Linked DNA regions of Homo sapiens: region 2 is linked to region 1. The links are contacts of gene promoters, found by promoter capture Hi-C in human tissues and cell types (Jung and others, 2019). All regions are on one chromosome and are shown on one strand. Each heading gives the region's core, a stretch centred on a gene start or on the middle of the fragment in contact. The rest is flanking DNA. Distances are from core to core; before and after follow the strand shown. Region 1 holds the start of NID2 (nidogen 2). Region 2 overlaps GPR137C (G protein-coupled receptor 137C).

What was found. Contacts are between HindIII fragments. The study calls those that stand out against the background at their distance.
Region 2: a fragment that was not itself captured here is called in contact with the fragment with the promoter of NID2 in region 1 in 1 of the 25 tissues and cell types used here (spleen).

The regions. Positions count from the first base shown.
Region 1 is chr14:52,067,314-52,074,017 of GRCh38, reverse strand. NID2 (nidogen 2) reads left to right here and starts at 4,959. Exons shown (of 22, transcript NM_007361.4): 1 at 4,959-5,251; 2 at 5,855-6,160. The coding sequence starts at 5,024. LOC105378180 (a long non-coding RNA gene) reads right to left here and starts at 4,782. Exons shown (of 2, transcript XR_943864.4): 1 at 2,511-4,782; 2 at 1-1,789. The HindIII fragment of the contact is 10,101 bases long and covers 1,015-6,704 here.
Region 2 is chr14:52,562,216-52,569,037 of GRCh38, reverse strand. All of the region lies in intron 1 of GPR137C (G protein-coupled receptor 137C), which reads right to left. Among named protein-coding and RNA genes, the nearest start is that of GPR137C, 13 kb to the right of the region's middle. RefSeq lists enhancers at 1-595, 596-1,311. The HindIII fragment of the contact is 3,840 bases long and covers 1-3,210 here.

The DNA.
Region 1 (6,704 bases), core at 3,710-6,209:
TAATCATGATTGGCTTCCACCAATCTTAGGGCATCTGCCAGGGCTGAGGAAGCAACCCATCATTCCCGGGCTTATTGCACCCTTTACCTGAACAATATGGGGTTTCTAAAACCAAAAAAAAAAAAAAAAAAAAAAAAAAAAGAGGGGATGGCTGTTGGGAGAGGTTCCAATAGTGTCTGCCACACCAACCCTCTCTCTACTTAAAAATGTCACAGCAGAATTGCATCTGCAGTGATTCATATCAAAAGCTTGAACAGTCTTTTCATATTGCACATTTTAATTTAAATACTTTCTCACTTCATGGTTCTCCTTAGGCCTAACCTACTTTCAATTAAGCCTGAGTCTGTGAAGACATACTAACTTGTTCGAGTCTATTTTCTCTACATGCTAGCACACACACCCTGGAATTTAATGGATAGTAAAATTATGCAAAGAATCACTGTGTGCAACAAGAACTGGGACATTTCCTGCCAAGCCCACCTCCAATACAAACATGTACACACACCCATCGGTGCTATACATAGAACTTGCTCTTAAATACCAACATCCATTTGCCACACTGTGGAGCAAATATGCTTCCATTCTCATGATTAAAATAACAGGAAGTATCATCATTCTTGAAGTCTTGGTATTTATAACAACAATATAACCACAAAAAATATGTAACTGTGGAGACTCTTGATAAGGTCTATTGGCAAGGCATCTGGTAGCATCCTTGGCTTGATGAAAAGCCCTGTATCTAAATAATCTTACTTTTCAAGCAATGCTGTGATGTACCCTGAGGATCCAATCCAAGAAGGGTAAAAACTGCTACAGACGTCCTCTATAACCCCCAGCCTGAAAGGGGCCTTTGCCTCTTCAGCCAGTCTGGCAGGTCATGGAAATTCTACTCTTGCAAAGAGAGCTGTGGATACAAGCAAAGTATTTCTTCAGTATTTACTTTGACTGGTGAAAGAGCCACGGCAGATTTTTTTCTTTTTCCCCAAGACACAAAATGACATTTTAAAGAAGAAACCACTCTTGGTGCCATAGCGTCTTTTAAAAATAATATCAGAATAAAAGCTCAAAGGCATGTTCTCTTAAGCACAGCTGTCCAAAGCCTCCTATTTCAGGGAGAATTCAGCCACTTTATGCAGACAGGAAAACAAAACTGTTCGTTTTAGCATCTTCTCTATTGGAACTATTTTTTTGTACTCAGATTGCATCAGATTCAAAACTAGTGACATCCTCTTATGCTCTGTTTCCCCAACCAGATCATGAGCTCTTTAAGGTCAGGGGCCACATTTTGTACTCCTTTATTTCTTGCAGAGTTGTGTTTGTCATGGTGTACTTTCAGGAAATTGTTGTTGAATGGATGAATGAATGAAAGAATGACAAAAATGGGAGAGCAGTGGTAGGTGAGTTGCTAGGCAGCCTGGTAAAGAGGATTACAAGAGTCAGGTCAGATTAGCAGGAAAGGTGGTGTAGGGGAAAGAATGTTGCATTCTGAGCCAGCAGACATGGGTCCTAGTCCCAGGCTGGCTTGCTTGTCTTCACTCATTCAACAAACATTTCTTACACTTCAAGTGAGCCAGGCAGGCATTGCGGCAGACACTGAAGAAGGCAAAATCCCTGCCCTCCAGGTGTGGTGGTGGTGGTGGTGGTGGTGGTGGTAAGGGAAGCATGTGGAGATCAGGATTATGGGAGAGATGTGTGATAGGAGGTATGATCACGGCAAGCACAGGGCACATGGAAGCAAGGAGAAAGGGCTTCTAAATCAGACTGTGGATTCCAGGAAAGCTTCGTCCACCTGAAAGGAAAAGACAGAGGCACAAAATATAACAAAACATTTACTTGAGCCAAAGTGAGGACAGTTGCCCGGAAGACTTAGACCCAAGTAACCCTGGATATGAGCTTCATGCCGCCTTTATTACAAGCAGGTTTTTTACAGGCAGAAAAGGGGGACAGGGAGTAGGCCGATATGAAATTGTTTGTAAGGAATTCACATTGGTTTACAGAAACAACATTGCTCACTGATTGGCTATGCACTGTTAAGCTATAGGCTATGAGTGATAGTGTCCAGTGTGACATTATTAGGTTAATGTATAGTTACTTGTGGCAATAGCAAGCAGTTTCAAGGATGAATACATAGCTCAAAAGGGGGCAGTAGTGTTACTGGAAAGAGTTCCTGATCCAGACCCTAAGAGAGGGCTCCTGGATCTGGTGCAAGAAAGAATTTGGAGTGAGTCTACAAAGTAAAGTGAAAGTGACTTTATTAGATAAGTAAAGAAACAAAAGAATAGGCAGAGCAGTGGCGTCGGCTGCTTGACTGATTATACTTATGGTTATTTATTGATTATAAGCTAAATGGGGTGGATTATTAATGAGATTTTTGCAAAAGATGTGGGGAATTCTTTTCTCTTCCCAGATTCCTGAAGGAGGAGGGTTTTGATTCAAGCCTTAAAGATGAGAAGGTGTTGGCTTGAAATTGACCAAGAAATTGACCTTTTACTGTAGGTAAAAGGACTTACCTGTGAGGATGTTGTATTGGAGAATTAAAGTCTCAGCTTCAGGTGAGACTTCAGGGTGGCTGTGACGGGAGATAAAGTTAGAGACATAAACTAGAGCTACTTTCCAAAGGGCCTTGCTGCAATATAATTTAGTGGTTAGGAGTGGAGGTTTAGAGATCAGACAGAATTGGGTTCAAATCTCAGCTTTGGTACTTACCAGCCATGTGATAATAACTGATTTTTTTAAAATCCCATCTGAGCTTTAGTTTCCTTAACACAACGACTACCTGTTATCAGTTGTCTATTGCTGCATAACAAATTATCCCAAAATGTAATAGCTTAAAGCAACACACAGCTTCTTCAGCTTCTGAAGCTGAAGCTGTAATTCTCAGTTTTGGTTGGTCTGGAATCCCACCAAAACTATAATTATAATCTAACCAAAACTATAATTCTCAGTTTTGGTGGGTCTGGAATCTGCACCTGGCTTAGCTGGGTCCTCTGCTTCAGGGTCTCTTGCAAGGCTGCAATCAAATGTCAGCCAGCGCTGAGATACCATCTCAAGACCCAACTGGGGAAGGATCCGTTTCCAAGCTCACTGACATGGTTGTTGGCAGAATTCAGTTCCTTGCTGACTGTTGGCCAGAGGCTGCCCTCCTCAGTTCCTTGCTATGTGGGCCTCCCCGACATAACAGCTTGCTTCATCAAAATCAATGAGAGGGAAAGTCAACTAACAAGGAAGAAGCCACAATCTTATTTAGCCTTCTTCTCATCACTCTTGCCACACTATGTTTGTTAGAAATCACAAGGCCAGTCCACACTCCCAGGGCAGAGATTATACAGGGGAATGAACACCAGGAAATGGGGATCATTGGAGACCATCTCAGTGTTTGCTTGCCCCAAAGCTCATAGCTTAGTACCACTAAATAAATGTTAGTTATTATTATTATGCTGAATCGAGAGATAAAGTAAAACTACAGAGGGCCAGTAGTTTTATATCAGGGAGTAACTTCAGATGATGTTGGGCAAGTCAAGTCATCTGTCTTTGAACTTTCATTTCATCCTCAGTAAAATAAAAATACCTGACCCCAGAAAGAATGAGAAAATATATGTGCAAGCATAAATATATTTTTGGAACATCAAATATACAACTCTCCACTCTGAGGAAGCAAACTGCTTTGGGCCAGTTTTCCATTTTGTGTCTGCTCTATGAGTCTCACAGTCTGATGTCTTCACGTTTTTTAGCGTTTGGTCCAGTGGGCCCATAGGAATAAACACCTACAAAGAGCAGTGTGTCTCTGGAGAGTCCTTTAAGGCATTTCCAAGGATTTGCTTTTTGGTTTTTTTCTTTCTTTCGTTCTTTTTAAATATCTTTGCTTTTAAGGACCTCATGGGGGGCCTGGGAGAGAAAACAGACTGTCTGGGAAATTTTAAGCTCTTGATAATAAAAATGGTAATAAAATCTCCTCCAGCTCCTGAGGCTTCGCAGAGGGGATGTTTATGGTGGATGGGGTTCCCCTTCTCCTGCGCAGCTGGTTTCGAGGTTGTGCGGTTTCCAGTCCTGCGGAGCAGCTCAGGTTACCGCCTCCGTGGCCGCGGGGGAGGGCATCTCCGACGGCCGCAGCAATGGGCAAGAGATCAGGGTCTTCCCATCCCCGCGACTCGCCCCTTTCTGCCTGGTAACCAAGCGGGATGCCTCATCCTACTCCCCAAACGGAGCGGATCACACACAGTAGTATTTCATGGTCTTTCCTGCTGCGGTTTTCCCGGGGGAAGGTACTTCCAGAGGGTGGCCAAGTCTTCCCTAGCGGCCGGCCTTCGGGAGGGGGACAGAACTTAGGAGTCAGCCCTCTGCCTTCGTACAAAGGCTCGCTTCTCCTCAGGGCGTCTCTGGGTGGAGCGAAGCGGCCGAGGGGACCACGACAATGTCCCTTTGCTTTTCGGACCGATGGCCAGGCCTCCAGAGCCAGGAGCGCCCGGGACCCCAGGGCAGGGAGCAAAGCTCATACCGCAACCCCGCCACCCGCCCGCGCCCTGCCAGCCTGTTGGGGCCACAGCGCGCAGGCCAGCAGCCGCACTCGCCGCTGCGGGGTTCCCTTTGCGCTGAGCTCATCTCCTGCAACGCCGCTGCCCCAAACCTTGCGGGCCATTTGGTCCCGGGGGTGGGGCTCCTTGGGGGCCGCGGGGCAGCCCGGATGAGAGGATGACCCGGGAGCTCCCTGGGGGCGGAGTGGAAGGGGCAGCTCCAGGCAGCCCTGGCCAGGAGCTTTTACCCCGCCAGCCCCGCTGCTCCAGCGGCCGCTGCCTTAGAAAAGTTAACGAGAACCAGATGTGGTGGCCACTGCCGAACTTTCTCAGAGCCGGTGATTGGTCCCCAGCCGAGGGCCTCAGCCAATTAGCTTGCTGGGTGGGCCTGGAGTCCCGCCCCGCCCAGGCGCCCGCGGAGATCCAGGTTCGAGGCTGGCGCGGCGCGGAGAGTGGGCTGGAGGCCGGGGCGGGACGCGTTGTGCAGCGGGTAAGCGCACGGCCGAGCGAGCATGGAGGGGGACCGGGTGGCCGGGCGGCCGGTGCTGTCGTCGTTACCAGTGCTACTGCTGCTGCCGTTGCTAATGTTGCGGGCCGCGGCGCTGCACCCAGACGAGCTCTTCCCACACGGGGAGTCGTGGGGGGACCAGCTCCTGCAGGAAGGCGACGACGAAAGCTCAGCCGTGGTGAAGCTGGCGAATCCCCTGCACTTCTACGAAGCCCGATTCAGCAACCTCTACGTAAGTTCAGCCCCCTCCTGGCACTTTTCCCGCAGCTTCTTCCCTGGGGTCGGTCTCACGGAAACCCTGCCTCCAGAGGGGAGGAAACAGACCCCACTCCTGGAGCCCCCCAGCACCCTTGCGGTGGTACCCGGCCAGAGAGCGATGCCGCTGCCTGCCCCGCTGCTGTAGGGGAGCAAGAATGACCTGGAGGGGAGAGCAAGAATTGTTCGCAGCCACGTACGCGTCCCAGGCAGAAAAGGTGGCGTTGCTAGGGCGGCCAGCGGGCTTTGCAGTTAGGACCGCGAGAAGGCTGTGCCCGTCTGCGGAGCTGGGGTGTTCCCTCTTCAGACCTGGAGGCTTCCTCTCCGAGGACATGGGGCTCCGGGGTTGTGAGGGGAGTGAGAAGATAGGTGAACGAGTTTTAGGGCCCCTGGACCTACTGCAGCGCGGAGCTGGGACAGTCGCAAAAGTTGCGCTTGTTTCCCTGAATCCAGACTCCCTGGCCAGTGGGGAAGGAGAGAGAGGCTTTTTGCCTAAGTCAGTTCCCTTCCCTCCCTGCGCGAAAGGGTAGCGTCCTTGGGCTTGAGCGACTGTCACCTTTTTGTCCCTCTCCTCTCCCAGGTGGGCACCAACGGCATCATCTCCACTCAGGACTTCCCCAGGGAAACGCAGTATGTGGACTATGATTTCCCCACCGACTTCCCGGCCATCGCCCCTTTTCTGGCGGACATCGACACGAGCCACGGCAGAGGCCGAGTCCTGTACCGAGAGGACACCTCCCCCGCAGTGCTGGGCCTGGCCGCCCGCTATGTGCGCGCTGGCTTCCCGCGCTCTGCGCGCTTTACCCCCACCCACGCCTTCCTGGCCACCTGGGAGCAGGTAGGCGCTTACGAGGAGGTCAAGCGCGGGGCGCTGCCCTCGGGAGAGGTAAGTGACCAGGGATATTTGACTGCTGAGGAAATTGAAGGATGGGCTTAAATTCTGGGGCAGCGACCCAGGGACTGGCTCGGAGTTGTTTCTGAGCCTACTCTTGCGCTGAACCTGACCTTGGAGGCAGCAGGGCTGGAGTGGCTTGGGAGTGAGGAAAGACGTTGTCTCTAGGCATCTTCTGAGGCCCTGGCAGGTGGTCACTCCCTTGAGGAAAAAAATGCTTAGCGGATATGAGAGCGGGAGTGCAGATGTGGGAGCCCCTTTGAACATAAGGCAATTTACTGTTTGGTTGCTTATTTTTAGAACCATCTCTAAGTATACAAGTATTTCTAATTATATGTTCATTGAAGGGGAAAAAATCAGAAAATACAGATAATTTTAAAAAAGAAAACAACCACTCATTTTCCCACCACTGATAAACATTTTTCTGCGTACATTTTCAGAGTTTTTTCTTCTGCATATCTTTATTGCTGTCTATTAACAATGATGAGTTTACACTGCACATACTGTTTTATAACTTGCTTTTTTCACAGAATAGTGT
Region 2 (6,822 bases), core at 41-2,540, 500 kb before region 1:
GCATAAGGTGTCTGTCGCCCCTTGCTGGGAGGTATCTCCCAGTCAGGAGGCAAAGTGGTCAGGGACCCAATTGAGGAGGCAGTCTGTCCCTTAGCAGAGCTCAAGCGCTGTGCTGGGAGATCCGCTGCTCTCTTAAGAGCCGGCAGGCAGTAATGTTTAAGTCTGCTGAAGCTGTGCCCACAGCCGCCCCTTCCCCCAGGTGCCCTGTCCCAGGGATATGGGAGTTTTCTCTATAAGCCCCTGACTGGGGCTGCTGCCTTTCTTTCAGAGATGCCCTGCTCAGAGAGGAGAAATCTACAGAGGCAGTCTGGCTACATTGGCTTTGCTGAGCTGCGGTTGGCTCCGCCCAGTTCTAACTTCCAGGTGGCTTTGTTTACACCCTGAGGGGAAAATCGCCTACTCTACACAGTAATTGCGGATGCCCCCTCCCCCCACCAAGCTCCAGTGTCTCAGGTCTCGCTGTGCTGGTAGCAAGAATTTCAAGTTAGTGGATCTTAGCTTGCTGGGCTCCATGGGAGTGGGATCCACTGAGCTACACCACTTGGCTCCCTGGCTTCAGCCCCCTTTCCAGGGGAGTGAACGGTTGTTTCGCTGGTGTTCCAGGTGCCACCGGGGTATGAAAAAAAAACTCCTGCAGTTAGCTCAGTGTCCACCCAAACAGCCAACCAGTTTTGTGCTTGAAACCCAGGGCCCTGGTGGTGTTGGCACCCAAGGGAATCTCCTGGTTTGCAGGTTGGGAAGACCGTGGAAAAAGCATAGTATCTGAGCTGGAATGCACCATTTTTCAAGGCAGAGTCCCTCATGGCTTTCCTTGACTAGGGGAGGGAGTTCCCTGACCCCTTGGGCTTCCCGGGTGAGGTGACGCCCCACCCTGCTTCTGCTCACCCTCCATGGGCTGCACCCACTGTCTAACCAGTCCCAATGAGATGAGCCAGGTACCTCAGTTGGAAATGCAGAAATCACCCACCTTCTGCGCTGATCTCCCTGGGATCTCCCTGGGAGCTGCAGACTGGAGCTGTTCCTATTTGGCCATCTTGCCAGCCACCAGGTAGTTAATCTGGATTTCTTAAGAACAATCTCAGCCAGGCGCGGTGGCTCACGCCTGTAATCCCAGCACTTTGGGAGACCCAGGCGGGCAGATCACGAGGTCAGAAGTTCGAGACCAGCCTGACCAACATGGTGAAACCCTGTCTCTACTAAAAATGCAAAAATTAGCCAGGCGTGGAGGCACGCACCTGTAATCCCAGCTACTCGGGAGGCTGGGGCAGATAAATCACTTGAACCTGGGAAGCAGAGGTTGCAGTGAGCAGAGATCACGCCACTGCACAAGAGACTGGGTAACAGGGCGATTCTCTGTCTCAAAAAAAAAAAAAAACCAAAAAAAAAAAGAACAATCTGAATGTAAGCAGTGATGAACGCTGACAATAGCTTACAACTGCTTATTCTAGAGTACGACAGAAAAAGCAGTGTAGTCAGAAGACCTGCCTTCCAATCCTTCTAATTTCTAATGTGGTTTAGGACAAATCCATGACCTAAAAGGTGAGAATACCTACAAACCTATCTTAATCATACAGTAAAGAAATAAAGGTATCTCAAATATTACCATAAATTAGAAAAAGTGTTTATCATATTGTCTAAAGTTTATATGTAAGAAAGGTGGCAGAGGAAAATCTTAATTTTAGAGATGCTCTTTTCTTTTTTTCTAAAATAATAATAGCTACCATTTGAGTCTTATTATGTTCTGCTATTTAAAGTATTATTCTATTTAACTTCACAACCCCATGAGGTAGGTACAGATGGAGAAACTATGATACAGAGAAGTTACGCACTTAAGGTCACTTAGCAAGGGTCCAAGGAATGGGACTCCAGTGCCCAAGTTCTTAACTACCTAATACCTCCATATCCAGAGTTCTTTTCTTTTTTTTCAGACGGTGTCTCACTTTGTCACCCAGGCTGGAGTGCAGTGGTGTGATCTTGGCTCACTGCAACCTCCACCTCCCGGGTTCAAGTGAGTCTCCTGCCGCAGCCTCCCAAGTAGTTGAGATTACAGGTACACACCACCATGCTCAGCTAATTTTTTGTATTTTTAGTAGAGTCAGGGTTTTACCATGTTGGCCAGGCTGGTCTCAAACTCCTGACCTCAGATGATCCACCCGCCTCAGCCTCCCAATGTGCTGGGATTACAGGCGTGAGCCACTGCACCTGGCCTGTATCCAGTGTTCTAATGGTATCCCTATAACATCCAGTTTACAAAACCTGGAAAATCTACCATCCATTTAAAAATGTAGGTGCCTTTAACCATGACTGATTCTAGCCTGTTAATTCATGTCTAAAAACGTATGTATAATGCTCCTAGCAGGTAATCATATCACTTTTTCTACTTTGGGCAAAAGGATTTCCTGCTACTGCCAAGTATATATGCTCTATTCTGACTTAAGTTACTGCTGTCAGTCCTGCTGTTTAATGTCCCATTCTTTTCAGAATAGATTTTTTAAAAAAATGCCAATTGGGCACTTAACAGCCTCAGCCCTCACATTGAACTTTCTCTTCCACAAAAGCTCTTGGAGAGAGAAAAAATACAAGGGGCTCCTGACCAATGAAACAACCTAAAATAGGGCTATAAAGGGATAAAAGTTTATATTCTCCTTAGAGTATACACTACACCACCTCAAACCAGCTCAAATGACTGGATCCTACATAGTAGCTGAGGAGAGTACAAATTTTTAAGAAAATATTTAAGCTTTTTTATACTCTGAGAAGACTGAGGCTGGAAAAACAAATTGTAGAGTGTGATTAATATGCTAATGAAAATGGTAGCTGTAATTGAGTTTTTGTAAGAGAAGAGAAGGTACAAATTTGAAATATTATTCTAGAAGGATGATGATCCCTGGGTCCTAAATAAATTTTGATCAGTTTTAACGTGTTATGTATAACTCTGTTTAACTGGCATCTATATCTCAGAGACAGAATTGAGATACTGTATTAGATCACAGAACTAGGTACTAAGGAGTTTAAGCAAAAATTCTCAAATTCTGCATTGCTTTATTAGTATCAGCATACTAGAATTCAAGGTATCTTAGATATCACTGAGACTAACCACTTTACAAATTATACAACTGGCCCAGAAAAATAATGATTTGCAAATATCAATTATTCATATAAAGCAGAATTTGGACTAGAATTCTGGTTCCCAGATTCCTTGTTCAGGGCCATTCATGATGTACTATCTTAAACATACCCCTTTACCAAAGTTAAAATAATAAGATTACAAGGACACTTAATTTTTAGAAGTTTGTCTTTATTTAAAACAAATTAGATGAAATGTTCCATGAAGTTAGATTCTGATTTTGTTTGTGGAGGTGGAAAGAAGAAAATGCTACTTTTAAATTCCCTTACTTTACCACTAATTTACTCCAAGTCATTAAGCACTGACCACATATATAACAGTGCTAGGTGTTGAAGGGTATGCAAAATTTCTTTTGAAATAAATGTAAAATAGTGGCTGATCTAAAGCAATATGTAGTATAGTGGGGCAAAGCAGACATAGATGGCATATCCAAAGATAATATGGTACTTTCTACACATTTGGTCAGACTTAGAACACCGTAATTTTTCCATAAGGTATAAATTACTCAGAGTTCATTTTAACTAACTTTGATGGGTATTAAATATAATTAAAGCTTGGTATATGGAAATTATAAAGACAGGATTATATTTAGTTGTTTTATTCCTATGAGAAGGAGGAGGAAGAGGAGGAGAAGAAAATAGCCCATGGTTTCGGTTTGATCCACAAAAGTTTTGCTTAGCTTATTCGGTATTAGCCTACAGTATTTTTAACATACTTGAAAATCCCGTCATTATTTAAAAAGTAGATTTCTCATTTTAAGAAATTCAAATTTGTGATTTCTCTTGAAAAATCAGATGATTTGACAATGTAATCTCATAGCTGGAACTGAATTAATGTGATTGTCCTCTTTAAACACGTGCTTTCCGATTCACCACAAACACCAACACTCCCCTATTCTCTCTCCGAGGTTGTAGCATTCAGGTCCCTCTAGGCATCTGATTTTGGGACTTTTGTTTTAAAGCAAGCATTTTTTTTTTGAAGGGAGGAGGTAGATAAGTGGGAAAAGAGAAGGAAGAAAAGGGTAGACCAAATTCTGCTGTGAAATTATATATTCAGGGATTCCTCCTCACTATGCTATTTGGGATATGGTGAACAAGAACTTCATTCAATATTTACTGAACACCTAATACACATCAGATGTTAAATTAGGTACCAATACCTAATACAGCAAGAACAGACTTGGTCCTTATTCCTATAGTGCTTACCAATCTAGTAAGCTCACACAAAAAAGTCACACAAATATAAAATTCCAACTGTGCAAATGATATGAAGAAGAGCAGCATAATGCTCCTCTACTAGTCTATAATTTTGGAATCTAACTTGAGTAGTTGAGTGAAGGCTTCCTTGAAGAAGCACTGTGCCCTGGAGTTGAGAGTTAACTAAGCAAAGGAGGAGGAAAGAACATTCTAAGTAGCAGGAAAAGAATATGGAATGGCTCTGTGGCAGAAGGAATATGGCAAGTAGAGGACTAAAATAATGTTTAATGTGGCTGGAATGGTGAGGAATGAGGAGCATAGTTTGAAATTAGGCTGGAACCATGAAGTGACTTGTAGTATACATAGAACTCTCTCTATTCTAATGAGTAACTAGATCCAATGGAGAAATCTAGGAGTGGGGCTTTTTTTTTTTTTTTTTTGAGACGAAGTCTCACTCTGTTGCCCAGGGTGGAGTGCAGTGATGCGATCTCGGCTCACTGCAACCTCTGCCTCCCAGGTTCAAGCAATTCTCCTGCCTCAGCCTCCCGAGTAGCTGAGACTAGAGGTGTGTGCCACCACACCCAGCTAATTTTTGTATTTTTTAGTAGAGATGGGGTTTCACCATATTGGCCAGGCTGGTCTCAAACTGCTGACCTCGTGATCTGCCTGCCTTGGCCTCCCAAAGTGCTGGGATTACGGGTGTGAGCCACCGTGCCTGGTTGGGTGGGGCTTTTATAATAGATTTTTGTTCCAAAAAACTCTGGCAACACTGTGGAGAATGGGCCTGTGGGGGCCAGGGTATACAGACACACCAATTAGAAGGCTAACTGCCATGGACTAGTCAATACATGCTAGTAGCCTGGACCAGGCATTTTGAAGGGAAGAAGTGAATGGACTTAAGAGATGTTAGGAGGTAACAGGATTTGGTGATGCAGTGAATGTGCGTAATGAGGGAGAAAGAATATTGAGAAGGACTCACGTTTCTGAATTATATAGATAATTGGATATAAATACTAGTCACGGAAATGGGGAACAAAAGAGGAGAACCAAGTTGTGTGTGTGTGTGTTTTTGAGTTGGGATCTTGCTCTGTAATCCAGGCTGGAGTACAGTGGCGCAAACATTGCTTACTGCAGCCTCGAACTCCTGGGCTCAAGTGATGCTGCCACCTCAGCCTCCCAAGTTGCTGGGATTACAGGCAGAACTGTGCCTGGTTCAAGAACCAGGTTTTGATGCATATAGGTGTAGGGTGGGAGAGGAGGAAGAAAGATCATGTTGAATCTGAGTGCATCAGATACCATGAAGATGTCAAATCAGTGCAGAATCTACAGAGCCAGCTCAGAGTAGTATGGGTGAGTAAGGATCGGAGATAAGTGTGAGTCATCTGTTTTTAAGTGGCATGATGTCACGAAAGTGGATGTGATCACTTGGAAAGAAGAGGGGATCTAGGTTTAAGTGTTTAGAAATCTCAACCTCTCTGATGGCAAGACAGGCACATGAGCTTACAAAGAAGCTATCAAGGTAACAAAAAAATTAGGAGAATGCTATTCAATGTGCTAGCCAGTGATAAGGGGAAAGATATGGGGGGTCAATTGCTGCTGAGAAGTTAATTTGAATGAGGACTGAAAAATGTCTAATGAACTTATTGACATGAAGGTCACTGTGAGCCATAGGCAACAACTATTTTGTAGACTGATGGGGGGAAGGCAGATTAGAGAAGCTGGAGAAGTGAGAAAATGTTGATATATTCATGGTCACCTCTGAAAGAAGTTTGATTATGAAGAAAGGTATTAGGTAGCTTTTGGCTTTATCAAACCTCTTTGTTTTTTCTATTTTACTACTCTTAAGATTCATCTCCTTTGGATTTATCCTGTTATTTTTCTAACATAAATTAGATGATTAGCTTATTAAATGTTTTCTTCTAATGTAAATATTCCAGGTTGTAAATTTAGTTCTACATGCTAACCTAGCTGCATAATTCAAGTTCTGATATATAGTATTTTTATTATCATATAGTATTCTTAAATGCCATTGGAATTTCTTCCTTTACCCATGTTGTTCATAACTGTTTTAAACATTTCTAAATGAACCTTTAATAGTTGTTTTTTGTTTGCTGTTTTTTAAGAGACAGGGTCTCGATACATTGCCTAGGCCTGGACTCAATCTCCTGGGCTCAAGTGATCCTCCTGCCTCAGCCTCCTGAGTAGCTGAGACTACAGACACGTGCCACCATGCTCAGCTTTACAAGTTATTTTTGTTACTGAATTCTGGCTTGTTTTAGGAGTGTGAGAATGTAGACTATGAAATCCCAGTTATTTAAAATTTAATAATAGCCAACAATCAATAGTACTACCATGTCCCAAACATTTTATATGAAGTATATAATTTTCACAGTAATTCTATGAGGCAGGTATTATTATTCTAATTTTTATAAGAAGGAAAATAGGCACAGAAAAGGTAAGTAATTTACCCAACTAACTTAACCAAGTTACATAGAGCTG